Linked DNA regions of Homo sapiens: all the other regions are linked to region 6. The links are contacts of gene promoters, found by promoter capture Hi-C in blood cells and fetal thymus (Javierre and others, 2016). All regions are on one chromosome and are shown on one strand. Each heading gives the region's core, a stretch centred on a gene start or on the middle of the fragment in contact. The rest is flanking DNA. Distances are from core to core; before and after follow the strand shown.

What was found. Contacts are between HindIII fragments. The CHiCAGO score rates a contact against its expected background, and 5 or more counts as called.
Region 1: a fragment that was not itself captured here is called in contact with the fragment with the promoter of ZDHHC9 in region 6 in 7 of 17 cell types (activated CD4 T cells, total B cells, naive B cells and 4 more); the score reaches 8.6 in activated CD4 T cells.
Region 2: a fragment that was not itself captured here is called in contact with the fragment with the promoter of ZDHHC9 in region 6 in 13 of 17 cell types (M0 macrophages, activated CD4 T cells, neutrophils and 10 more); the score reaches 15.8 in M0 macrophages.
Region 3: a fragment that was not itself captured here is called in contact with the fragment with the promoter of ZDHHC9 in region 6 in 16 of 17 cell types (neutrophils, activated CD4 T cells, non-activated CD4 T cells and 13 more); the score reaches 27.2 in neutrophils.
Region 4: a fragment that was not itself captured here is called in contact with the fragment with the promoter of ZDHHC9 in region 6 in 11 of 17 cell types (non-activated CD4 T cells, activated CD4 T cells, total B cells and 8 more); the score reaches 20.9 in non-activated CD4 T cells.
Region 5: a fragment that was not itself captured here is called in contact with the fragment with the promoter of ZDHHC9 in region 6 in 2 of 17 cell types (non-activated CD4 T cells and activated CD4 T cells); the score reaches 7.8 in non-activated CD4 T cells.
Region 7: a fragment that was not itself captured here is called in contact with the fragment with the promoter of ZDHHC9 in region 6 in 16 of 17 cell types (activated CD4 T cells, total B cells, non-activated CD4 T cells and 13 more); the score reaches 36.7 in activated CD4 T cells.

The regions. Positions count from the first base shown.
Region 1 is chrX:130,032,731-130,036,367 of GRCh38, reverse strand. It overlaps BCORL1 (BCL6 corepressor like 1), which reads right to left. Exons shown (of 14, transcript NM_001379451.1): 9 at 1,692-1,913. Among named protein-coding and RNA genes, the nearest start is that of BCORL1, 52 kb to the right of the region's middle. The HindIII fragment of the contact is 1,064 bases long and covers 1,637-2,700 here.
Region 2 is chrX:130,055,758-130,059,174 of GRCh38, reverse strand. BCORL1 (BCL6 corepressor like 1) reads right to left here. Exons shown (of 14, transcript NM_001379451.1): 14 at 1,104-3,321. The coding sequence ends at 3,039. Among named protein-coding and RNA genes, the nearest start is that of ELF4, 53 kb to the left of the region's middle. The HindIII fragment of the contact is 3,020 bases long and covers 258-3,277 here.
Region 3 is chrX:129,619,343-129,623,257 of GRCh38, reverse strand. No RefSeq gene overlaps it. Among named protein-coding and RNA genes, the nearest start is that of APLN, 34 kb to the left of the region's middle. The HindIII fragment of the contact is 3,328 bases long and covers 136-3,463 here.
Region 4 is chrX:129,667,349-129,670,916 of GRCh38, reverse strand. No RefSeq gene overlaps it. Among named protein-coding and RNA genes, the nearest start is that of APLN, 14 kb to the right of the region's middle. The HindIII fragment of the contact is 3,694 bases long and covers 287-3,568 here.
Region 5 is chrX:130,011,430-130,015,176 of GRCh38, reverse strand. BCORL1 (BCL6 corepressor like 1) reads right to left here. Exons shown (of 14, transcript NM_001379451.1): 3 at 2,509-2,599; 4 at 1-2,227. Among named protein-coding and RNA genes, the nearest start is that of BCORL1, 31 kb to the right of the region's middle. The HindIII fragment of the contact is 1,527 bases long and covers 511-2,037 here.
Region 6 is chrX:129,842,122-129,845,776 of GRCh38, reverse strand. ZDHHC9 (zDHHC palmitoyltransferase 9) reads left to right here and starts at 1,891. Exons shown (of 11, transcript NM_016032.4): 1 at 1,891-2,081; 2 at 2,451-2,518. The HindIII fragment of the contact is 4,624 bases long and covers 1,109-3,655 here.
Region 7 is chrX:129,638,022-129,642,013 of GRCh38, reverse strand. No RefSeq gene overlaps it. Among named protein-coding and RNA genes, the nearest start is that of APLN, 15 kb to the left of the region's middle. The HindIII fragment of the contact is 2,728 bases long and covers 1,085-3,812 here.

The DNA of each region.
Region 1 (3,637 bases), core at 919-3,418, 190 kb before region 6:
AATCCCTTGAACCCAGGAGGTGGAGGCTGCAGTGAGCCGAGATTGCACCGTTGCACTCCAGCCTAGGTGACAGAGCAAGACTCCATCTCCAAAAAAAAAAAAAAAGGATAATCCAATACTGCCATTCATCCACACTTTAATGACTGCCTTCCTTGGATTGAGATGATGCTAGGACTACAGGTGGGACACCAGGGACTTGAAGCACCCTAGCTAGCATGGGCTGAAGCTGGGTGAATGAGGTGAGGAGGGGAGAGGCTGGCAGCATTAATGGCTGCCTGGCTTTCCAAACAATGGATCCCATAGCTGCACCATTGCCAGTCCTCTCTGGGGCACTGGGGAGATGGGCCACTCCACCTTTCTGTCTGACAGCTCACAGGCTAGCTGGCTAGAGCGGCTGTGTGTGCAGCCTGTGTCAGGGGTGCTGCTGGCTGTATATAGAAACTGTCAAGCTCCTTTACCCGGGAGAAAGCCCGAGGCTTCCCACCCTCCTCACCAGTGCAGATGTCTGCCTCTTCCCCCAGGCCCAAAAGGGCTCCTTCCACCCTCCCTGACAGGCTGCCTTAGTGCTCCAGCCCTGTCCCATTGGCCCCTCCAATGGTTTCCTGTTGGCTGGTTTTGCCCAGGGTACAAGACAATTAAATTAACCTTGACGGCAGGGATTGGTCTTGATTTTTGTTTTAGGTCTCCCTCGGCAGCTATCCAGGCACGCACACTAGGTGCTCATGAAAGATGGGCTGCTTGCCAGTGAGACACTGTCACGTCAGCTCCCCAGAGCTGACCAGTCTGGCTGGGAGTGTGGCTGGTGTGAAACAACTCAGGTATAGGGATGGAAAGCCTTAAAACCAAAGGCACACTCTGTAACTAACCCAGCAACTCCACTGCTAGGAGCATACCCTGAGGAAATAATCCATATGGTAGGCAAAGATACACACTCAATAAAAAGTGGGGAACAATGGAAACGTCCAAGGTGTAACTGAATTATGGTGAATGAGTCAGTCTTCCACCTACCCTGGCACTTGGGAATCAAAAGACCTTGGTTTGAATTCAGACTCATATGCGTAGTAGTTGAGTGATCTTAGACATATCAGTAACACTGCAAAGCCTCGATTTTCTCACCTATAAAATGGGGATAATAAATCTACTCCATCGGCTTACTGTGAGATTAAATGATACAAAGTAATCAGGCTCTTCACATGACAAAAGAAGTGCTCAATAAATGCCAGCTTCCTTTCTTGCCTTCTTTCTAATCTATAGGGTAGTAGTATAAGGTGGGGTTAGCTCAGCCTCGCCCCTCAAACATGATCCTGGCCCCTCTGCGAGAGGCGAAAATGAGGGGAAGCTGGAGGAGGAGATGAAGAGTGAGCAATAAATCACCCCTTGTTCCTTTCTGAGTTGGGAAACCACCATACAGAGAAATTTAAGACAACGTGGATATCCAAAAATTGCGTTCCTGGTCTAGGAATATACTGCATGATACCATTTCAATTGCATTCATCCCAAATTGACATTCAAGCAAGTTTGCATTCTCACACGCTGACATCCAAGTGATGAGGGGCAAGGCAGCCCCAGGGCAATCTGGGGTGTAGAGGGAGGCCAGCCTGGGTTCAAGCACCAGAAGAGCCCATGGAGAAAAGCTTCTTCATAGATGCTCAGACCAACGGCGCCCTGTGGTCAGTCGAAAACTCCCTTACCTTATAGCCAAGACGCGCCGCCCTCTGCAGGAGGGTCTCACCAGCATTTTTGTTCACTATGAGCCGACGTGCCTCTGGGGGGATCTGCCGGGCTGTAGGTGACTCTGAGGCCTCCTCTGAGCTGGCACTTCGGGACTTAGAGGGTGTACATGGTTCTGTGGGTTTCACTGGGGTGGGAGATTTGGGAGATCGTGTCTTCTGCTGGCTCCAACGACCTTTGCCCTGGAAAGCAGAGATGCAGTCCTAGGTCAGGTCAGGCCAGGCAGCTTATCCATCCACCAGGGTCATCACTGCCCTCAGTGGCCAAGGCCATCTCACCTTATCTGTGTCCATGCTGTACTTTGCTTACACTACCCTAAATGGCCGAGACTACTGTCAGGTTTGAGGCCAGACGCTGGGCCAGGCGCTAACCATGTGAAGTCTCTCCAGGATCAACACAGGTTCCCATGAGTTTGTAGCCGGTGGGGAGATATGAAGAGGTTCAAATGCTCAACCCCATAAACCAAGGAATGCCACAGGGATTGTAAATCAGAGATTGAGGGGATATCCTAGCTTCTCTCAAGACTCTGCATGCCTTCTTTACCTGCCTCAATCACCATTTATTGAGGTTTTTATAAGTCCTATCTGTAAATAGGCAGAAGCAAACTCTGAGAGTAAAGAGAAATGAGACAGCTATCTTTTTTTTTTCTTTTTTTGAGACCGAGTCTCACTTTGTCACTGAGGCTGGAGTGCAGTGGTGTGATCTCTGCTCACTGCAACCTCTGCCTCCCAGGTTCAAGGGATTCTCCTCCCTCAGCCTCCTGAGTAGCTGGGATTACAGGTATGCGCCACCATGCCCAGCTAATTTTTGCATTTTTAGTAGAGAGGGGTTTCGCCACATTGGCCAGTCTGGTCTCGAACTCCTGATCTCAAGTGATCCGCCTGCCTCGGCCTCCCAAAGTGCTGGGATTACAGGCATGAGCCACCATGCCCGGCCGGCTATCTTTGACTAGTCACAGCTGCTAAAGCTTCACACTTGTAGCAAAAACCTTCCTTCCACATCCAGTCCTCACAGAATGTTCCCATCTTCCATCACACTGTGTCCCCATATCATACTCAGACTCCCCTGGGGTGGTAGAAAGATCTAAGGCAGACCTGGGCTTGAACCTTGCCTCTGCCATCCCCTAGCTAGAAGACCTGGGGCAAGGCCCTCCCTCTCTGAGCCCCACTTTCTTCCTTGCAGGGTCTTTGAGATAATGAACTACAAAGGCTCCAGAACTGTGAGCAGGGTAGGTGCTCACAAAACACTAGGAGAGGCCGGGAGCGGTGGCTCACGCCTATAATCCCAGCAGTTTGGGAGGCTAAGGCAGGCAGATCAGTTGAGGACAGGAGTTCAAGACCAGCCTGGCCAACACAGTGAAACCCAGCCTCTACTAAAAATACAAAAAATCAGCTGGGCGTGGTGGTACACGCCTATAGTTCCAGCTACTCAGGAGGCTGAGGCATGAGAATCACTTGAGCCCGGGAGGGGGAGGTTGCAGTATGCCAAGATTGCGGCACTGCGCTCCAGCCTGGGTGATGGAGTGAGACTCTGTTACAAAAAAAAAAAAAAAGAGAGAAGAAAAGAAAAAAAATTGCCGGGCATGGTGGCTCACACCTGTAATCCCAGCACTTTGGAAGGCTGAAGCGGGTGGATCACCAGATGTCAGGAGTTCGAGATTAGCCTGGCCAATATGGTGAAACCCCATCTCTACTAAAAGTACAAAAAATTAGCCGGGAGTGGTGCCAGGTACCTGTAATCCCAGCTATTCGAAAGGCTGAGGCAGGAGAATTACTTGAACCTGGGAGGCAGAGGTTGCAGTGAGCCCAGATAGAGCCACTGCACTCCAGCTTGGGCAACAAGAGTGAAACTCCATTACAAATAAATAAATAAATAAATAAATAAATAAATAAATAAATAAATAGAA
Region 2 (3,417 bases), core at 518-3,017, 210 kb before region 6:
TCCTGGGACTAGTTGAATTCTTATACTCACCACATGGCTTTATAACCTATCAACATGTCAGATTTCTTGACTTAACTGCAAGTTCCAAGCACAGGATCGACCTGAATTCAGAACCACTGTGGGCTTGTTTGGGAATCTGACAAAGGTGGCTATTGCATAGGGCCTTGGGATCAGAAAGTGGGGAGAGGACGGCCAATGAGGAAGATTAATGCTATGGTTCAAAGAGGATGATGCTTGGACCTGGGTCGAGCCAAGCTTCTGAGGCTTGAGCAAAGACAGCAGCTTAGAGTTCACTCCTGAGGACGGCTGGACTCCAGCCAGCCAGACGCACAGATCCCTTCGCCTCTACACTCTCTAACAGGGCTCTCCAGACTCGAAAGCCACAGTGAGAAGCCCTAAGAGAATAGAGCTTCAAAGGGCCTCATCCCAGGCCTCTCGAACATCCTCTTCCTCTCAGTCACTGGTGCATTCTGGAACCAGCAATCACAAGAATCATAGCTTCTACCACTGTTTTTCAGAAGTGGGAGGAAAAACTGCAAAATCCAGGATGGGCATCTTGCCTTCATGGTAGCTCGGTGGCAGGAAAACAGAACCATGGAAGGCCTGCACCGTGGGTGGGGAGCACTGGCACAACAGTGAGGGCAGTGATGAGGCCATGCAGCCAGATGCCACCTCGGCAGGGTGGCCTAGGGCAAGCAGGGGACTTCCTTAAGGAGGCTTATTCCCACAGCCACCACAGAGAAGGCTACTTCCTCCAACCCTGCTACTCCTATGTAAACAAGGACTGCCCAGGCACCTGCTTCAACCCCAAACCAAAGCAACAGGAGCCAGATGCTCCATTTGCCCCCACTGGCCCCGCCCCCAGGATTTGCCCCTTTCTTTTTCTTTCCAGATCGTGACCCAATGTTCACTAGCCACTCCACCTTGCCTTTATTCATCGTACCCCTTGGGACCCACAGCTGCAAAGCAGGATGGCGGGGGCTCCCCATTTACTGAATCACAATGCCCACCTTCTGAAACCACCAAAAAGTCCCAAAGGGGAGGAGAGAAAAAGAGAGACGGGAGAGAAAAAGAGAGACGGGAGACAGAAGCCCTGACACAGGTTTTTCAGTATGCAAGTGTTTTTGACTCCACAGCCAGTTGCTTAAAATGAAACATAAAGGGCAGCCAGAATATACACCCAAATGCGAAAAAAGGAAAGGCAAACAGAACATGAAATAAACTACACAATACCAGGAACCCCAACAAAACCAACAAATTAAAGTCCAAAACCCCTCAACTTTATATATATATATGTATATATATATGTATTTTTTTTTCTTAAAAAGGGAAAACAACTGTTCAAAACCAACTGGGCAGTATGGTGGGGGTGGGGAGCAGTCCTACAGAAGGGGGCCGAGAACTTCCCCCCCAGGAACAAAGAACAAACACAATACAAAGAAAATAACCACCAATGCTCCCGCATGGCTCAGGAGCCTCTAGAGAACAGATTGTCCCATCCTCAAACTGGCTTTTTTTTTTTCCTTTTTTTTTTAATCTTTTTTTTTTCCATTTTCTTTTTTGTTGTTGTTGTTTTAGCACCTGTACAATAAAACTGTACCATCTCCAACCAGAGCCGGCCACGGCGAGGCCCTCCTGCCTTTGGATGGTACATACTCTACAAGGATTGTTCGGAAAAATAGCAATTGGTAGAAAAATAAGAGTGGGAGGGACAATGCCACAGAGGGGGCGGGGACAGGGAAGCAACCCAAGCTCCTCTCTCTCTCTCACTCGACAAACCCAGCGCTGGAGGCCCAGAGGCCAGGGGGAGGCCAGGTAGGGATACCACTCAGCCCCAGGCCCCCAGGCATGAGTGGAGCAAGGGCTGGAGACCACTTTCCTGCCCTTGCCTAGGAAACAGCTGACGCCTGGATTTCACATCCGGCAGTGAGTCCCAGAGCCCTCTGCAGATTCCCAAGGAGAATGAGGGGCTGAGGGAGGAGGTGGGAGGAGAGGAAGGAAAGGGGTGCTGTGAGTCTCAGAAGGGGCAGGGATGGGGGTGGCTGAGGGCTGGGAGGTGAGAGGCTCAGTATCTTGAGACAGGGAGGCCAGAACGGGGTGGGAGAGTGGAGGCAGGAACAAACTCGTATTGTGCACTCTGAGGGGGGCAGTGAAGAAGGCGTGAGGAGGGGGGCCACCCTCACCCCTCAGATCCCTTCTCCACGCTCCTTTATTAGAGTAACTTATTAACCCCTCACCTCACAATCCTCCCCTCCCTGTCAACACTAATCTCAAGATAGCGGGGCTGCTGCAAAGGGCGGGAATGGGTGGGTGGGGGAGCACCAAAGCCTCAGGATTTACCCCCAAGCCCCCAGCCCTGGGCCAGCAGCAACCAGCTTCGTTAGTCACAAGTCCATGTTCCCCCACCCCATTCCACCTCACCCCCTCCCCAGTGGGGGAAAAAAACACCAGGGAATAGCTTTGTCAGAGCTCATCAACAAAGAAAAAGAAAAGGAGGTACAGAAAGTCCCTCAATACAACAAGTTGTCTCAAATCGTCACAGTGATACAGACTTATCAGAAACCAATGAAACAATACAAATTAAATACTAATAAAATAAATACTACAGAAGACAGAAGAACACAGGGGAATGGAGTTGGGGGGCGCTCAGAGATCTGGGATTTTCTCATTTCTCCTCGGGACAGGCCAAGGCCATCCAGGGCCCAGGTTTGGTCTTGGTCATGAACAAGGAGGCCAGTCCAAGGGACCCCGGCGCCACCTCCCACCACCCCCGGGACCTCTTGTCCTCAGACATGGAGTTCAACTTTCCACCCCCATCAGCAACCACGATAACAATGACGACGACAGGGAGATGAGAACTAATTGTAACCAAAAAAACAAAAACAGTCCAGTCGCTAATGCTGGCATTGATAAGGCGGCTTCTTGTTGGTCCGTATTATTGCCTCATTCTGCAGTCTGGTGCTCGGTCGGGGAAAGACAAGGAGGTGGGGGAAGGGCGAACTCGGAAGGAGAAAGAAGAGGAGGGGCTGTTTTCCCGGTCAACTGTTGCAAGACTGGAATTCCACCTCGGACCCTAGGAGCCGAAGTAGGTCTGGCTCGTACCGCACCAGCTCCACAGTCTCAGAGGAGCCTGGGGGGGATCTGTCGTCCAAGCCTCCAGGCCTCTCGGCAGGGGTCAGCAGCTGACTGGAGGCCACCTGCCTGTAGAACTCGGCCTTGGGCATGGTGGTGATTTCAAAGTGCGGGAACCGGGCCTGAAAGATCCTCGAGGAAAGCTTCAGCCTCTTCAAGACATCGGAAAAGAGGAACCAGTTGCAGGGCCTGCAAAGGCAAGGATGGGAGTTATTGAAGGAGGCTGGAGGAAGCGGTGGGGGCACCGACCCAGAACACTCTGCAAAGCCCACAAAGGCTGCACGA
Region 3 (3,915 bases), core at 550-3,049, 220 kb after region 6:
TCATCTTTGACCTGAGGTAAGTGTACTTGTAGTGCTAGCCTAGCCAGATTCTCCCACGCACCACAGCATCCCTTGAGGGGCCAGGAGGGCCGGGTGACTATTAGGTCAAGCATCTGAAGAGGTGAAGACGAAGCTTCAGGCATTTCCCCTCATGAGCCAAAGGAATGCCGGAGAAGCCCCAGAAGCCCCGAGAACAATGGGGAGTTGACAGCCCCTCTGAGGACTTGTGACGTGGGCCCTGAGGGGGGGCGCACAGCTGCCTGCCAGAACCTGGGGCAGGGGAGAGGGGTTGGCAAGGTTACAGAGGAGCCCCTGGAATCCTTGAAGGAGGAAGCCGGAAGCAGCTGGGGATGACACTGACAGGCATTTCCCGCCTCAGGATGCCCTCCTGCTTTCTTCACTGCCGCTGCAGCTGCAAAAGCAAAGCTGCAGCTTCTCTATGGCCTCAAAAGGCAGGTCTTGAGGTTGGGAGCTGTAGGGCCCCAGTCAGACCCCCTACTCCTTGCTTCCTTCCCTCTCTCTGAGGAAGGCAGGCAGCCCCCACCCGATTCACCCTGCCTAAAAGGCAGGGTACCTTTTAGGCCTAGGGAAAGCAGGGGGAGATTAAGGCCATTGTCTTTTTTTCTGTTTTTGTTTTTACAGACAGGGTCTCTCTCTGTCACCCAGAATGGAATGCAGTAGTGCGATCATGGCTCACTGCAGCCTCGACCTCCTGGTTCAAGCAATCCTCCTGCCTCAGCCTCCTGAGTAGCTGGGACTACAGGCCGGTGTCACCACACCCGGCTGATTTATTTTTTGTAGAGATGGGGGTCTTTCTATGTTGCCCAGGCTGGTCTTGAACTCCTGGTCTCAAGTAATCTTCCTGACTCAACCTTCCAAATTGGTGAGATTATAGATGTGAACTACTGTGCCAGCCAAAGACAACTGTCTGTAGCTCTTTCCCTGCCTGAACCCAGGCTTATGCTTCCTTTGCCAAAAGTAGGGCTGGTCCTGAGGGCATCTGGGCCTGGAAGGTGTACTTACCCTCTTGCTGTTTCACTGGGCCCACACCAGGGCGGGCTAACTGGGCATTGCTTAGCCTCCAAGTCTTCTATAGGTGCTTCAGCGAATAGCACCAGGCCCCAGGCAAATTGAGGCCTCTCTGTCTGGAGAATCTGTCTCACCTTAGTCCCCTGTTACATGTTTCCTCCATATTTTTTGCAGTGCAGCGCCCTCTAAGCATGCTCCCATTGACATAGGTTGTGATAATAACCTGTCCTCCAAATTTGTAGTAATCATGGCCACTCCCTTAGTGAACCTTCACGTCGCTCAAGATTTTAGCACAGGGAAGACAGGCTAAGGTTCCCAGCATAGAAGCAATAGCATCCTCTGCCCCCTTTGTTCTCCCATTTAAGAATATGGGTCAGAGGGAAAGTGACTTTATTCTAGGGATAACGCCTCCCTTATTTGTAATAAGAATAATCTTGAATCTAACCTCTTTTATGATGCAAAGTCACTTCTTTGCAAACTTTGATACTTTTTATTAGTAACACACCTTACAATTGATCTACCTCAACTCTGTTGTTAACAGAGATGGCCCCATCCAGAGCCTACTCTGGAATTCGATGGTATAAGAGGGTTTCCAACAAGTGGTTTTCCTGCAATTGCCCCAGCCGAGGTGGGGTGGTGGGGACTATGGGTCCCCACCAGATGGCAGGCAGCAAGGCCACCTCCTGGGCTGTGCACACAGCAGCAACAGCAGTAGTAATCAATGATAAGAACACACGTCAGGAAATATAGACACATGGAGGCCTTCAACATGAGAGAGGGAAAGGTGCTTACAGATCACATGGACCTTGCTGTCCAGAACCGTCACCATGAGCCACATGTGGCTATGGAGCACTTGAAACGTGGCTACCACAAAACAGAATGTTCTCCAAGGGTAAAACACACAATGGAATCTGAAGACTTTCTATGAAAAAAAAAAAAGAATGTAAAAGATCTCACTAATATTTTATATTGATTACATGTTAAAATGATAATATTTTGGATATACCAAATTAAATTAAAAATATACTATTAAATATACATAATTACAAAGGGACACGAGGAATCTTCCGGGAATGTTGCATGTGGTTCACCCTCTTGATTGTGGTGATGGTTTCAGGGAGGTCTACATATATCGAAACGTGTCAAATTGTACACTTTAGATATGAACACCTTATTATATGTAAATTGTATCTCAATAACACTGTTTAAAAATTCCTCAGTGGCTTCCCCGTGGCTACTCTAAAGGATAAAAATAACTAAGTTCTTCAGTTTATTTTTTTCAATGTGGCTACTAGAAAATTTAAAATTACATATTGCATTATTATCTATTGGACAGGGCTGGTCTAGTGATTCCAGTCCATTTTACAGATCATGAAACTAAGGTCCAGAGACAGGAAGGGCCTTGCTCATATATTGCTTAAGGGCTGGCACCAGAATGCACAGGGCAAGACTACCTATGTTGGTAAAAAATACTTAGATAAGCTCTGAAGAGTAGAAAGTGATACCCATCCCTGATTTAATACCCTTTATAGGTGCCAAGGCCTCAGGGGGCAGGGGAAGAATTTGGAGCAACTTCGGAAACCCTGGAGGGAAAGAGAGGAGCAGGGAGAAAAGGGGACAGAGGAGCCAGAGAGGTGTGGGAAGGCTGTCCACTGTGTGAGGTGACCACATCCACCTCCCAGGATTTCATCCCACCAAAGATCTTTAGTAGATTCCACTACTCACATTTTCTTGGTGGGAACTGAGAAAGGGTCTAGGTCTGGTGCTTTGGTCAACAGTGTGAAAGCAGAGACCAAGCTCAGAGCTGCAGAACGTGGGTGGTAAGAAGGCCATGAGGATATAACTCTTCCCTCTTCTTCCACTCTAAGGGAAGGTGGCTTAGAGTGGGAAAAGGAAGGTGACTTCAAGCTCAGTCTTTAAGCACTGGAGGACAATGGGTCTCACAGCACTTTAAGGGGTGCAGTAGCAACACTCACCCCAGGCCTGGATCAAGAAAAAGTAGCCATGCCCCTCTGACCAGACCCAGCCCAGACAATGCTGCCCATTTCCCAGAGGGCCTTGCTGAGCTTCACTGGCCAAACACTAAGCTCTAAGGCAACTGTTCATTCAAGGATTTCAATATTAATTCCTAATGCTTGGCAGAGTGCTTACTATGTACCAGATACTCTTCTAAGTGCCTTGCAAATAGTAACTCACTTAGAAATTCAAAAATATCTTGGGCTGGGGTCTTGACTTGCACTGTTCATGGCACAGGGGTAGAAGGGGGCTCAAAGCAATGTCATTTAGATCTCAAGGGGCATAGAGGGCCCTGATGACTCAGAGATCCACTCGCATGATCAAAATCGTAAAAGTTAAGAAAAATATAACCAGAATGACTATAGCTTTATTTCCCATCTCCCAACCCTTGATTCAACCAAAAAGAATTAAGGAAGCTTCTACTACAGGCAAAGCCAACATCTACCTCCATGCTATGTGCTATGATGTATACAAAAAAGTCATGGTCACTTGCAGCACACAGAGAAGTCATTTCAGCAAGAAGTAGCACCAGCAAAGAACAGAAATCAGATAATAGAGTAGTTAAAGGTATGTGGGGGTGCTGAGTCCTGCCTCAATGGATGATGGATCTGACTCAAGGCAGTGCTGGCTATGTCTAGAATCTTTGGCCAGGAAGGAAAGAAGGGAAAGCAAGCGGGCAGCATCTGGAGGCCCAAGTTCAGCAGCAACTGGGTAAGTCATATGAGAAGGGGACCAGCGGGTTGCATTTTGAGGGAAGGGAATGTGTAGGCTTTGGCTCTTAGTTCAAGATTGATCTGGCTCTACTGTAGAGCCAGAATCCTGGGATTCAGGTGGGCATAAAGCAGCCCAGATCTGGTCCAGGATGCCTCA
Region 4 (3,568 bases), core at 884-3,383, 180 kb after region 6:
TGGAGTTGGGGGAGGGGGGAGGGATAGCATTAGGAGATTACCTAATGTAAATGACGAGTTAATGGGTGCAGCACACCAACATGGCACATGTATACATATGTAACAAATCTGCACGTTGTGTACACATGTACCCTAGAACTTAAAGTATAATAATAAAAAAAAGAAACTAGAAAGAGATAAAGAAATTAAACCCAAAGTAGAAGAAAGAAAATAATAAAAATCAAAGCAGAAATTAAAGAAATAGAAAAGAAACAAACAATAGAGAAAACGAATTAAGCCAAAAGCTTAGAGTTGAAAGTTCTTAGAGAACATCTGAAGTTCTTAGAGATAATCAATAAAATTGATATATTTTTAGCCAGGCTAATCAGGAAAAGAAGAAAGAAGACACAAATTACCAGTTTGAAGAATGACAGGGGTGACATAACTACAGATTCTCCAAATATTAAAAGAATACTAAGGGAATATTATGAACAACTTTTTGCCAGTAAATTTGACAACTTAGATGAAATGGAAAATTTTTTGAAAGACACAAAACACCTAAACTCACTCAGGAAGAACAGGCACTATGAATAGCCTTCTATTTAAAAAATGACTTTGTGGCTAAAAACCTTTCTACAAATATAACTTCAGGGTCAGATGACTTTATTGGTAAATTCTACAAAATATTTTAAGCAGAAATAATACCAATTTTATACAAACTGTTCCAGAAAATTGAAAAGGAAGAAATATTTCCCTTTTCATTTTAGCTATGTTTATTACTAGCATTACCCTGATAATAAAAAAGGAAAAAGATGTTATGAGAAAACTACAGAGCAGTATCCCTTATAAACATCTATGCTAAAATTGTAGCAAATCAAATCTAACAATATAGAAATAGGAGGATACACCCACGATCAAGTGGGGTTTATCCCAGCAAGGCAAAGTCGGCTTAACATTTGAAAATCAAGCAATGTAATTTGCCACATTAATAAACAAAAGGAGAGAAAAAAACCATAGGATTATCTCAGTAGATGCAGAAAAAGCACTTGACAAAATCCAACATCCTTTTTAAGAAAAACTCTCAACAAACTAGGAATAGAAGGAAACAATCTCAACTTGAGGAAGTGTATTATGAAAAACCCACAGTTAACATGTAACGGTTGACTACTGAATTCTTTCCCCCTAAGATCAGGAGATAGACAAAAAATGTCTGCCCTTATTCGATATTTTACTGGAAGTTCTAGCCAGTGCAATGAGGCAAGAAAATGAAATAAGAGGCATCTAGATAAAAAAGGAAGAAGTAAAACAGTAAAACTGTCTTTATTTGTAGATAACATGATCATGTATATAGAAAATCTAGAAGGATCTACAAGAAATCTACTAGAACTAATACATGACATTAGCAAGGTTTCTGGGTACAAAATTAATATATATAAGTCAACTTTATTTCTATATGCTAGCAACAAACAATTGGAAACTGAAATTTAGAAACAATACTGTTTACAATTCAATGAGAGAAAGAATAGTCTTTTCAACAAATGGTGCTGGGACAAGTGGATATCCACATGCAAAACAATGAAGTTGATCTCCTTTCCTACATCACACATAAAAATGTACTCAAAATAGAGCATAGACCTAAACGTGAGGTCAAACTATAAAAGTCTTAGAACATAGGTATAAATCTGTGTGCTCTTAGATTAGTTGTTTCTTAGATATAACACCAAAAGCACCAAGGAAAATACAGATAAATTTCACTTCATCAAAATGAAGAACTTTTGTGCATCAAAGAACACTATTAAGAAAGTGAAAAAGAAAAAAGACAACCCATGGAATAAGAGAAAAAATTACAAATCATATATCTGATAAGAGCCTAGTATCCAAAACATGTAATGAACTCTTACAACTCAACAATAAAAAGACAACCCAATCAAAAAGTGGGCAAAGGCTCATTTCTCCAAAGATACACAAAAGACCAACAAGCACATAAAACATCATTAGTCATAAGGGAAATGAAAATCAAAACCACAATGAAATACCTCTTCACACACACTAGAATGGCTATAATAAAAACAAAAACAGAAATAAGTGTTTGGGTAGGATATAGAGAAATTGGAACCCTCATACATTGCTGGTGGGAATGGAAAGTGGTACTGTTGCTATGGAAAACAGTTTAGCAGTTCTTCAAATGGTTAAACATGGAGTTGTCATATGGCCCAAGTACATATTTGTAGGTATATTCCTGAGAGAATTGAAGACATACATCCACACAAAAATATGTACACAAATGTTCATAGAGCATTATTCATAATAGTCAAAAATAAAAACAACCCAAATATCCATCAACTGATAAATGGATAGATAAAATGTGGCATATCCAAACAATTGGATATGATTTGGCAGTAAAAGGGGATAAATTTCTCATACATGCCACAACATGGATGAACCTTGAAAGCATTATGCTAGTGAAAGAAGCCAGACACAAAAGGCCAACATTGTATGACTCCATTCATACGAATGTTCAGAAAAGGCAAATCTATAGGGACAGAAAGAAGGTTATTGGTTGCCAGGGGATGGAAGGGTAGGGGAATGGGAAGTGACTGGTAATGGATATGGAGTTTCCTTCTGGGATAATAAAAATGTTCTAATATTAGATTATGGTGATGGTTGCACAACTCTGTAACTATACTAAAAACCATTGAATTGTACACTTTAAACTGGTGAATTGTATGGTATGTGAATTATATCTCAATAAAGTTGTTAAAATAATTCAATACTAAGAAAACCAACCAATAAAAAATGGACTAAATATTTGAACAGACAATTCACCAAATAAGATATCTGGATGGCAAATAAACACATATAAAGATGCTTTCCTCATTAGCCATTAAGGAGATAAAAATTAAAACCACAGTGAGATACCACTACAGATCTATTCGAATGGCTAAAGTTAAAAAGACTGACTGAAGTACTATTCCAATTATGTGAGGTAGTAGAGTAGTTACAGTCATAGAGACAGAAAGTAGAATGGTGGTTGCCAGGGGCTGGGGAAGGCGCAAATGGAAAGTTAATGTTTAATGGGTACAGTGTTTCAGTTTGGAAAGGTGAAAAAGGTGTGGAGATGGATGGTGGTAATGGTTGCAGAGCAATGTGAATATACTTAATGCTGACAAAATATAAACTTAACAACAGTTAAAATTTGTTATGTGTAATTACCTACAATTAAAAAATATGTAAATGAAGTCTTCTTAAAAAGGTCTAAATGGTAAATTTTGTTATATATACCTTTCACCACAATAAAGAAAACAAACAAAAGACTGACCACACCAAGTGTTGGTGAGGATATGGAGGAACTGGAATTCTCATACACTACTGGTGAGAATGTTAAATGGTATGACCATTTTGAAAAATGGTTTGGTAGTGTTATAAAAGTTAAACAGACATCTACCATATGGCTTAGCATTCCACTCCTAGGTATTTTCCCAAGGGAAATGAAAGTCTTTGTCCATACAGAGACTTGTATATGAATATTCATAGCAGTTTTATTGGCAATAGCCAACATCTAGAAAAAAAAAACCATCCATGTGCATCA
Region 5 (3,747 bases), core at 25-2,524, 170 kb before region 6:
GTTCCTTGGTTTGGCACCCTGGCAGCCCAGGGGCAATGCGGGCTGGAGTATATCGTTTCACTGTGCTTGGCTGTCCCTCAGCACCAGCCTGGCTGCCCTTTTTGCCACACGTGGCACCAGTGCCCTTAGGCTCTCCTTGATCAATGATGGAGATGGGCTCCTGCTTGGGGAGATGGCGGGGGTCACGGTTGAGGCCCAGGTTGGGGTCTTTGTTCAGCAGCAGGGATGCAGGCACTGGGTTGGCCACTCCCACGTAGGTGCCAGGAATGGTGCTGATCAGTGCAGTTGAGTTCTTCACCCAGGTGCTCGGGTCCCCATTCCTCACGATCTCGGGAAAGATGACAAAGGGCGAGGAAGTGGAGCCCAGGCAGGAGGTGACATTGCCACCGGCAGCCTGGGTTGTGCGCTGAGACCTAGACAGGACTGTGGAGAGGAGGGCCTTGCTGCTGGTGTGCACGGGGGTCAACACAGGCATGGGGGGTGTCTTGCGCTGGTTCGGCAATGGAAGCTTCTGGCGGTTGGACTTGGAGGACAGATCAAGGGGCATCTCGCTGCACTCAGGTGGAGAGGCCATCTCTCGTTCCAGCTGTGGCGGTGACTTAAGAGGAGAGAAGGTAACGGAAGTCCCTTCTGTTTGCTGCTCGGTGCCACTGGGCATCTTGGCGGGGTGCGGTGGGGCTGAGCTCCCACTGGGGGCTGGCAGCAGAGGCTGTGGAGTTGGAAGCACCTTGGCAGAAGCAGTAACAAGGGAGGTATCTGCCAAAGGCCCAGGGACCCCATCGGGTGCAGGCTGGGTGGTGGTGCTACCGGATGGGGAAGTGCAGGGGAGCCTGTTCACCTCCAGAGATACCAGCTTGGAATCCGAAGTCAGAGGCCGGGCCACAGAAAATGCATACGGGTAAGAACGGAGCTCGGGGGAGGCTAGCACGCCTGGGAGACACCTGTCCTGCAGGTAGGACGGCAGGACAGGGAGCGTAAGAGTGGAGGAAACCCCTAGAGTGGTTGGCAGTGTGGCCACACTGAGTGGCTGCCCACAGCTTGGAGGCGGGATATATACCAGCGGCTGGCTCGGGGTCAGCACTGTCCCTGGCTGAAAGGACAGGGGGACTTTTTGCATAGCTGGTGCCTGAGCTGCAGGAAAGCACACTCTACTCAAACTGAAGGAGGCCGGGATGGGTGCAGAGGTGGGAATGGCAGCTGGCGTGGCAGCAGGCATGGGTGTAGGGGCTGGAGTAAAGATGGGGGCTGGGGTGGGTGCAGGCACCGGTGTAGGAGCAAAGGCGGGGATGAGGGTGGGGGTAGAAGGTGGGCCGGAAGATGGGGTTGGAGTGGGCATGGGCACAGACGGAGGGGCAGGGGCCGCTGGAGGCGTGGATGCTGGCATGGGAGCCAGAACCGGAGTGGGGACGGGAGCGAGAACCAAGGTCGGAGCTGAAGGGGGCACAGGAGCCTGGATGAGAGCCAAGGGAGGAGCTGAAACTGGGACTGAAAGCGGGGCAGGAGCTGGAGCCGACAAGGGAACCGGGCCTGAAGGGGGAGCAGAAGCTGGCACAGGCACCAAGACTGAGGCCGAAACAGAAAGGGGGTTCGAGTCAGAGATGAGCGTGGGCACTGACGGTGGCGCTGGAGCCAGAGCCGGGACAGGTGCTAAGGGAGGGGAAGGAGCTGGAACCGAAGTGGCAACTTGGACTGGAACAAGCCCTGAATGGGGGACTGGGGCAGGGACGGAGAGGGGAACCTGGAATGCATCTGGAACAGAGTGGGGCACAGAGGCCGAACCGGGAGCAGGGGGACAGATAGGGGCTGGCAGAGGACTGAAGTTAGTGGTAACCAGGGGCAGGGTCCCCTCCACAGGGACTCCAGTTCCCAGAGTTGCCAAAATGAAAGTATTCTTCTCTCCAACACCTTGCCGAGAGTCCAAAGCCTTTACTCCGGCGGGTGAGCAGTCAACCTGTTTGCTCATTTGGGTGTTGAGTGGAGTCCAGGAGCAGTCGGCCCTGCTGTTGCTGGCCTCGGCGCTGTCAGATGCGGGAAGCTTGAGCCCGTCTCCTGGGCTGCTCAGGGGCACCAAGAGGCCCTCAGCCTCTGCCACGTTCCCAGCGTAGTCCATTTTTGGCTGGGGATCGTCAGGCTTGTCTTCTGACTTGTGCCCAAGTTTTTCTGTAGCACTGCCATCTGGGTCTGCCCCCCGGGCATTGCTGCCACTTCCAACTGCCGTGAGCTCCACCTGCAACGACAGGATAGCATGCACATCTCAGCCAGCTCCCTGCAGATGGTGCAAGTGTCCTGAGGCCCGAGAGGCAACTGCTGGTCTTCTCTGCAACTCGACCAACCAGGTCTCGGAAGACGCAGAGGGCAGCCAGCCAATTTGTGTCCCACCAATACCAACTCCTGGGAGAGACCCTGTCCCTTCCTGCCCACTTCCTGGGATGGCAGGCTGGGCACACCTCCCAGGCAGCTCAGCTCCATCCTTTGGTGGACAGCACGTGGCTCCATAAAGCCTCTTACCTTGGAAAAACTGCTGCTGACACAAAACTCCTGAGATCCAAAGTGCTGGCAGTCGCCTGTCGTTGACTCCTCATCAGAAAGAGGTGCTCTTCTAGCATGGAAGATACAACCAGAGAAGGGACATGAGGCCCAGGATTTGAGCCAACACCACCTTCCCCAGAATGCCTCCTGCCTGCCTGGGTCCCCATAAAACCTTCCTACCTCACTTCCTGTAGTAACTTGTGAGGGGGATTACAAGGAACTGGGGGTTCTTGGTTACAAAGCGGAGGCGCCACACCTAGCTTTGCAAGTCCCTACCAGAGCCCAGTCTGACTAGACCCCCCTCTTTGGACTGTTTACCCTGTTTTCTAGGGCTCTTGCCAGGAGTGTGGACACCCTAGCACTTTTACCTTTTCCCTGGAGCTTACCTGCCAAAATGACCATCCAGGATGTACAGGGCATTGCTCAAAGGGGAGACATGAGAACCACTGAATGCCTCAAAAGGCATGCAAAACCCATTTTTCTTTTAAATACAATCTTATTTTAAGTCTCTAAGGGCAGCTGGCTGAAAGTGTCATATGGGTAATCCTCTTCTAAAACAAATAAACCCCTGTTGTGTTTTCAGGTCTAAATCTGAATCGTCACCTATTCACCTCCTGTCTTGCCTAGAGCAGAGACATGTTTATTAGCACTGGTGATGATACCACTTGGAGGCCACCAGGTCACTGGGTGCTGAGAGGCATTTTAAGAATACTACTTTTTTCCCTCCAGGAGACACTGCCCCCTTTTTTCTAGAGTTCTAGGCAACACCCTCCCTTCTACCCTCCTTCTATCCTTGCCTACATCCTATCTCCTGCCAGCACCCCTCCCTGCCCCCCCATCAGTCTCCCAGCACCACTTTGTTCTCTCCTGTCCGAAAAGCCTCAGACCCCAAATTCAGGTTCATATGTCCCAGAGAAAAGGGCTCAAGGCCAGAGAGCTGGGTCCCAAAGGAGGAAAACTCAAATGCATCTCCCCCTGTTTAAAGTCTTCTCCAAATTTCAGGTAAGCATCATAGAAAATTGTACATCCTGACAAAAAAAAAAAGGGAGAGGGTGGCATCAGACTGCCTCCCTCCCCTGGTATTTTAAGTACAGCAAGAACTATTAGGCCAGGCATGGTGGCTCACACCTGTAATCCCAGCACTTTGGGAGGCCAGCTGAGGTGGGTGCATCACTGAGGTCAGGAGTTCAATATCAGCCTGGCCATCATGGTAAAACT
Region 6 (3,655 bases), core at 642-3,141:
CATACCAAGTGTGTGCAATACCAGCACCCTCCAGAATTCAAAGCGGGAGAATTGGAGGCAATGATACTGATCGTACACTTCATGAGGAATAAACTGTTGATCATAATCAGCATGAGTGCTAAGGAACAATGGAAGCTTTATAAAGACAAACCTTCCTTTGCAAGTTAATTACAACACATCTCAGAATTACCTAGTGTTTTTTAAATCCTTTAAGAATTTTGAAGGGTGCCATGAAAGTGTCAAATGTAATTATTATGTAGCTTTTTGTTTCATATTGTGTGGGACACATATACTGTAAAGGAAAAATAGTTCTTGACCATGTATGTGGTCCTTCAACTAACATACAACTGCCTTAGGAAGAGCTTTGGCAGTCTCTTCTGTACTAATTCCAAATACCAAATCTCTAAAACTTTGAAATTTTTATCACGCTTAGGAAAACCTAGGCTGGTAATGTAGGCATTCTCCTCCAATCTTCAACCTTTTCTCTTATCTCCTCTTACACTTGGAAAGGAGATGCCACCTTCAACCTTTTCTCATATTTCCTCTTATATTTGGAAGGCAGGAGCCATACTGGTGAAAACAGACCTAGTGTCTTTTAAAGTCACCCTATAGTATAATACTGTGGTTCTCAATTGTTTCCCCCCTTCAATCTCAAACTTTTTTTTTTTTTTTTTTAAGACAGGGTCTCTCTCTGTCGCCCAGGCTGGAGTGCAGTGGCATGATCTTGGCTCACTGCAACCTTCACCTCCTGGGTTCAAGTGATCCTCCTGCCTCAGCCTCCCTGGTAGCTGGGACTACAGGCGAGTCCCACCGCTCCCCGCTAACTTTTGTCTTTCTAGTAGAGACGGGTTTTGCCATGTTGGCCAGGCTGGTCTTGAACTCCTGACCTCAGGTGATCCACCTGCCTCGGCCTCCCAAAGTGCTGGGATTACAGGCGTGAGCCACCGCGCCCAGCCCAATCTCAAACTTTTAATGCATGCAACTCACTCGGATCAGTAGCAGTGGCTCATGGTGGCAGTAATGCAGAGCTGGGTGGCAGAAGGAAAAAATCAATCTGGTTGGTGGGTGGGAATTCTGCCTTGGATTCTCCCCTTAATCATCATAAGCTTTCCAAACCGAATAAAAATTTACAACCTTTTTGGCAATCTTTACTTCATTACCTACCTGGAAGAATTTATGTCCTCAGTGGAGTTTCTTTAACTCCATTAATGTCAATTAGTTGTTTTAGGTGCTGCAAAATGATAATACGTTCTTGGGGACATTTATCCTTTACAACATGCTTTTTATGCTTGTTTGTGTGTTTTGATTTGAAAGACTTAGAGATGCAGGCTAGGGTGACTGGGACAGATATGGGGTCCCTGGCTACTGAATGAGACTTGGGAGGCAGATGACTTGTTTTTATGCCGATAAAGAGTAAAATCTCAAGTTGCGGTTGATTTTAAAATGCAAGCAGGGCTGGAGAGGCCCATGGCAGACCTAGTTTGGGGTGAGCACCCGGATCTGTGAGCTAGTGTTGCTTCAGCATCTCACTGTGTGTGTGTGTGCGCGCGCGTGTGTGTGTGTGCGCGCGCGCGCGCGTGTGTGTAGGCTGGTTCCACCCTTTGCTGTCCCATCGGCACTACCCTTAACCTCCGTCTCTGCGTAACTATATTAATAGAAGGCAACACTTCACATACTGGCGCTCAGACCCCAAAGAGAGGCTGGCAGTGGCTTGGCAGGTGGGCATGCAGCAGGGAGATGGGTGGAGGAGTGGGCGGAGGCATCGTCGAGTGGCGTTAGGCAAAACCAATGGCAGTTCGGGATAGGGGCGGCCGGGGCGGAGGCGCCGAGGCCGATCGGCCAATAGAGGGCGAGCAACTACTGGAGCGACCTGGTGACGTGAGGAGCGTTCCATTTGGCCAGTGGTGGGCGGTTGCCACAGCTGGTTTAGGGCCCCGACCACTGGGGCCCCTTGTCAGGAGGAGACAGCCTCCCGGCCCGGGGAGGACAAGTCGCTGCCACCTTTGGCTGCCGACGTGATTCCCTGGGACGGTCCGTTTCCTGCCGTCAGCTGCCGGCCGAGTTGGGTCTCCGTGGTTCAGGTAACGAGGGGTGGGGGCGGGGGTCTCCTGGGCTCGGCTGCAGGGTGGGCTGCCTCCCCTTCCGCGGCGCCTGGAGGCGGGGACGTCGGCACCGCCCTTCTCAACTCGGCAGCCGCCGAGCCCCTGGCCCGGGGTGACTACACGTGGCGGGGCGTGTGTGAGTGTGTACGAGCGTGTGGCTGCGTGTGCGTGTGGATGTGGCGCGCGTCCCAACCTGCCTGGGGCGGTGGTCCGCGGCGTGGCGGAGTCAGGGCGGGCCTCGAGAGGCCGCGCCCGCGGCTCGGCCCCGGACTCCGGCCTCCGGCCTCCGGCCCCCCGCTGGGGAGCCGGTCGCTGCTTCCCGACGGATTTTGATCTTTGTTCTTCCAGGCCGGCTCCCCCTTCCTGGTCTCCCTTCTCCCGCTGGGCCGGTTTATCGGGAGGAGATTGTCTTCCAGGTTAGTTTTACACAAAGGACGGGTTCTCTGCACCTCTGGGCCCCCCTCCCCTTCCCCGAACCTTCTACCTTCTCGTTTCCCTGCTCCGCTCCTAGGCTGTTTTTGGACCTTTGCCCTCTCCAGCCCGCGAGTTGGCTGTTTCTCCCTCCGTCCGTCGGGCTGCAGGCTTCCGCCTCAGTCCTGCCAGCGTGGGGCATGTGGTGTCGGTAAATAGAGGCCACAACACCACACCTGAGCGGAGGAGAAGGGTAGCAGAGGCTGAGAAACTCTGGGCCTGGGAATTCAGGATGCTGAGTAGAGATGGTACTTAGGACATGTCCCAGAAAGCGCCCTTGTGACTTTTCTTAGCTGCTGCCATTCCCCACCCCCCAACCAGCCATCAGCAGTCACCAACCATTCCAGAATCTCTCCTGCTTAAGTCAGCCTTTCACCTACAGGTCTCTGATGTGGTTTCATTAAGATTCTCACAAATGTTAGGCTAGACCAGCCAGATTGTTTCATTTCCCGGACTCAGGAAGTTGCAGAGGGTTTGATGAGGGGAAATCTGTTTTGTGTAAATACAATGCACGTATGTGCACAGAGCGTCCAGAACCTCCTGGCCCTGCCAGAGGGTGACTTGTTCCCTGCTGTGATTCATATTCGAGTGGCTAATTGAAGAAAGAAGGTGAAGTGGAGGAAGGGAGGGAGGTTTTATAAGGACAGAAACTCTACTATTATTTTTAGAGTCCTTTTAATGATGTTGAAAGAACACTGTGGCATAGTGGAACATGCCCTTGACTGGAAGTTAGCAGTATCAGCATTGCTGCTGTGTGGTCCTGGATAAGTTATTTCCTCTCTCTGGTCCTCAGTTTACTCATTTACAAAACAAAGTATTAATAATTGGCACGATCACCTATAAAATCCTCTCTAGTTCCAAGGTTCTGTGATGATCAGATCATCAGCATTAGATTGGAAGCATAGAGGCTTATTTAAGAAGAAATACTAGCCCCTTTCCTTTTTTGAGAACCTTTTATCATACCTTCTTTTAGAGAACAAACACGAATTGGAAATAAACTTTTCCCACTTCCCCGTCCCCACCCCTTCAGTCAGTTTTCAACTTTCTGTCTCTGGGAAAGGAGGGTTGAACTGTATTTTCTT
Region 7 (3,992 bases), core at 1,199-3,698, 200 kb after region 6:
AAAAATCAGGCTCATGGAGGTGAGGTCACTTGTTCAAATTCATAGAGCCACTCATGGGTGAGTAGAGCTTCAAACCTGGGTCTGTCCCCGGCTCAGGTCAGCTGCTGCTATGGTTTGAATGCATCCTTCAACTTCATGTTTTGGAAATTTAATCCCTAAATTCATATGTTGATGGTATTTGGAGGTGGTGCCTTTGGTAGGTAATTAAAATTAAATAAGGTCATCAGGGTTGTGCCCCTATGATGGAACTGGTGGCTTTATAAGAAGAGGAAGAGAGACCTGAGCTGGCACACTCTTGCCCTCTTGCCATGTGATGCCATTCTACCACGTCATGATTTAGCAAAAAGTCCCTCACCAGACGCCAGTGCCATGCCCTTGGACTTCCCAGCCTCCAGAGCTGTGAGCTAAATAAACTATTTTTTTTATAAGTTACCCAGTCTGTGGCTACAGAAAACAAACTATGATAGCTTCCCTGCTTCTGCTAAGGGTCCTCTTTCCCACCATGAGTGTGCCTCAGTCACTAGAAATTTCCGGTCTCCCAGATAACCTTTAGGGCCTCCCCAGGGACAGATTACGTCCTCGGCATTTTTCCTTGTAGAAGCTTAGCTTGGGCAGCAGCCCAGGAGGCCTCTCCAAAGGTGTTAAGTGCTCACCATTAGCACCTGATCTGTCTGGAATTGTGGAGCCAGGCACCTGTTCCAGCACACCTGCTTGGCCATTGGGGTTCCTTTCTGCACAAGGCCAGGGGCTCAGAAACGTGGGTTCCAGTCCTGAATCTGCTTCTACCCAGGGCTTGCTGGGTAGCTTAGCAAAGTCTTTCCTTGGCCCTTTCTGGGTCTCAGCCTCCTCACCTGCCCAGGACACCTGGGTGGGTAGATGTGAAGCACCTGCTTGTGACTAGGGATTTGTTGGGGTCCCAGCTAACAGTGGGGGGTGATTCAGGCTGCCCTCCAGAGGCAATTCAGGACCTGACCCAGGGACCTGTAGGGAGGAGCTCTGGGAGAAGAATTAGGCATATGGCAGGAAAATGGGAACCTAAGCCAGTGAGGAAGTCCACTGCTGGGTTACGTGGGTTGCACAAGCTTCCCATAACCCCAGGGCCTGCTGGAACCTCCATTCCATACTTCTCCCTTTGCACAAATTAAATGCTTTCTGATCTTCCCTGAATGTTAAAAAATTGGCACACTGCTGCAGAGCTAGCCTGGTGGTGTGAAACTTGGGGTTCTGAGCTCTGGATCCTAACCCCAGCTTGGTCAGTAACTGGCTGTGTGACTCCAGGCAGGTCTGTTCATCTATCAGGGGTCCTGGTTCTCCCTCATCTATTTTCATAGGATGACAATCTCTGCTTTCCCTACCTTAAACACACAGAATCATAGAAGGGCAGAGCTGACATGAGCCTGAGAGATCATTCAGTACCCTAAGCCCTGTTATTTTTACAAATGAAGAAAGTGGGACTCAGAAAGGATAAGTGAACGCTTAAGGAACATAGCTAGATAGTCCTAGCAAACTCATGTAGAGCGCTTCTCATGTGCCAAGCACTGTTTGAGGAACTTCACCTGTCCTGACTTAGTCAGTCCCCATCACAATCCCATTTTATAGCTGAGGAAACTGAGTCACTGAGAAGGTAAGCCATTAGTCTAAAGATCTTCTGTGGTATGTGCAAACGAACTGAGAGAAACAAGGTGGCATTGCTTTAAAGGAAGGCAAAGGCACTGCTGAAATGCCAAGCATTCCCTCCAGGGCTGCAGTCACCTCTCGTCTGTAGGGGAGGGGCTTCGCTTTGGCACCCTCAGTCCCAGGGCAACAGAACTGCTTGTGATTTGGGGGCTGTGAGAGGCCTGTTGGAAAGAGGGTGCCTCTTTTTCCATCTAGGCAGAGACATCTCTGGCTCCCTCCCCAGCAGGTGTAGGGATAGAGGCTGGTGACTTTGGCATACGTTATGGGGGGTTTCATCCCCCATGTCTCTAGGCTCCTGAGCTTTCTGGAAGCCTGGAGTTCCTCTCTCCTTTGGAAATTCCCAACTCCTCAGATGTGAGGGATATGGAAAGATAAGAGAGGATAAACAAAGCAGGGAGGAAAAAGGTCCCAGTGAGGAGTGCAGGGGGATGGAGGAGGGAATCTCACCACACAGCCCCTTCCACCTCCAGCACTGCAGAGACCTTCTGATCTGATTATCCTCTTTCATCCTTCCCTCTACTCTGGGCTACCCTCTAGCTCAGCTCCACAGCCTGCCCCACCCCCATTCCCACTCCCAAATTGCCTGTCAAGTTTTAGGTCCCATGCCTTGTGTAAGTTTCAAAAGGAGCTCCCCTTCTCTCAATCTATGCCCAAACTTTTAGAACCCAAGCCTATAAAGAGCTCTTTGGCCTACCCCTACCCCAAAACAATCAGCTAAAAAATGCCTACCCTTGGCCAGGCGTGGTGGCTCATGCCTGTAATCCCAGCAGTTTGGGAGGCCGAAGTGGGTGGATCATCTGAGGTCAGGAGTTCGAGACTATCCTGGCCAACATGGCAAAAACCCGTCTCTACAAAATACAAAAATTAGCTGCGTGTGGTGGTGGGCACCTGTAGTCCCAGCTACTCAGGAGGCTGAGGCGGGAGAATCCGTTGAACCTGGGAGGCGGAGGTTGCACCACTACACTCCAGCCTGGACGACAGAGCAAGACTCCATCTCAAACAAACAAGCAAAACAAACAACAGCAAAAGAAAAAAAAAAAACGCCTACTCTGTGCAGGACACCATGCAAGGGACAGTGGAGGAGGAACAGTGGAGAAAGACTTGGTCCTCACCTTTCCTCTGGGAGGCACCAGCGAAAGGTGTGTGGTGAGGGTGTGACATCCCTCATTAGCTGTTGTAGCCACAGCGCCCTCTGTACCACTCCCCCGCAACCCCAGGGATGTTCTCCTGGCCCTGAGCCTGCGCACCGGCCTCAGCAGGACCTGCGAGGGAGGGAGCTTCATACCCATCTTTTAGGAAGCAGAAGCAGGGAAAGCCTCAGCCTAAGTCACCCAAAACCCATTTCCAGTGCTCTTCTAGTTTCCCCAGACTTCCCTTCCCAGGTTCTCCACCTTCCTCCAATTCTCCGGGTCCTCCAACTGCCAGCCAAGGCTCCCCTCCCCCATGAATCCTCCCTGGATGCTCTCCTAGCCCCGATGGTCACCTGCAGGTGAGGCCAGAATTGGAACCCAGACTTCTGCCCGCCACCTTCAAAAGCCTTTGTGCTCGCCAACTGTACACCTCCTCACCAGACTAGGCATGGCCATAGCCACAATGGAGGTGACGATGCTGACAGTGATAATGAGGGAATGTAATGATCATACCTTCCAGCATGGGATGCGGAGACTTAAACATCCTGACTCCTCCAAGTTCCAAGCCTGGGTCAGTCACTTCACCTTTCTAGGCCTCAGCTTTACCTTTTCTAAAATGGAAGTAAGAATCCCTGGCTCCCTCTCGGGCTTCTAGTGACTGAAGTTTCTGAAGTTAAAATGTTTGGTACAGTAGAGAGTGCTGTGTGTGTAACGGGGAAAAAACCCCATCGTTCTCAGCGGGTACCATGAAGACCACCCTGTTTGCATGTGAAAGTGCTTTTTGATCTGTAAAAGAGCTATGGGAATTCATTTCTCAGCATTCGCTGAATGTTTATTGAGGGCCTACTTTGTACCACATTCCTTAATACCTGGAGAGGGAAACAGATGTTATTCAAAAATCACAACCGAATGTCTAACCAGGAACTGTGGCAAGGGCCCTGGAGGCGAAAAACAGGCCTCTAGGAAGTTTATCACTGAGTGCACGATCTGGGGTCAGAGAAAGCTTCCTGGAGGTGAAGTGGGAGCTGACACCTCAGGAGTGAGTAGGGGTTAAGCTGGAGAAAGGAGGTCTCAGCAGAGGGAGCACAGGGCTTGTGTCCAAAGCACCAAGGTGGGAGGAAGCAGATGTGATTTATTGTTAAACCCATTTCACAGACAACGAAGCAGGCCCTGAGAGAGGCTGTG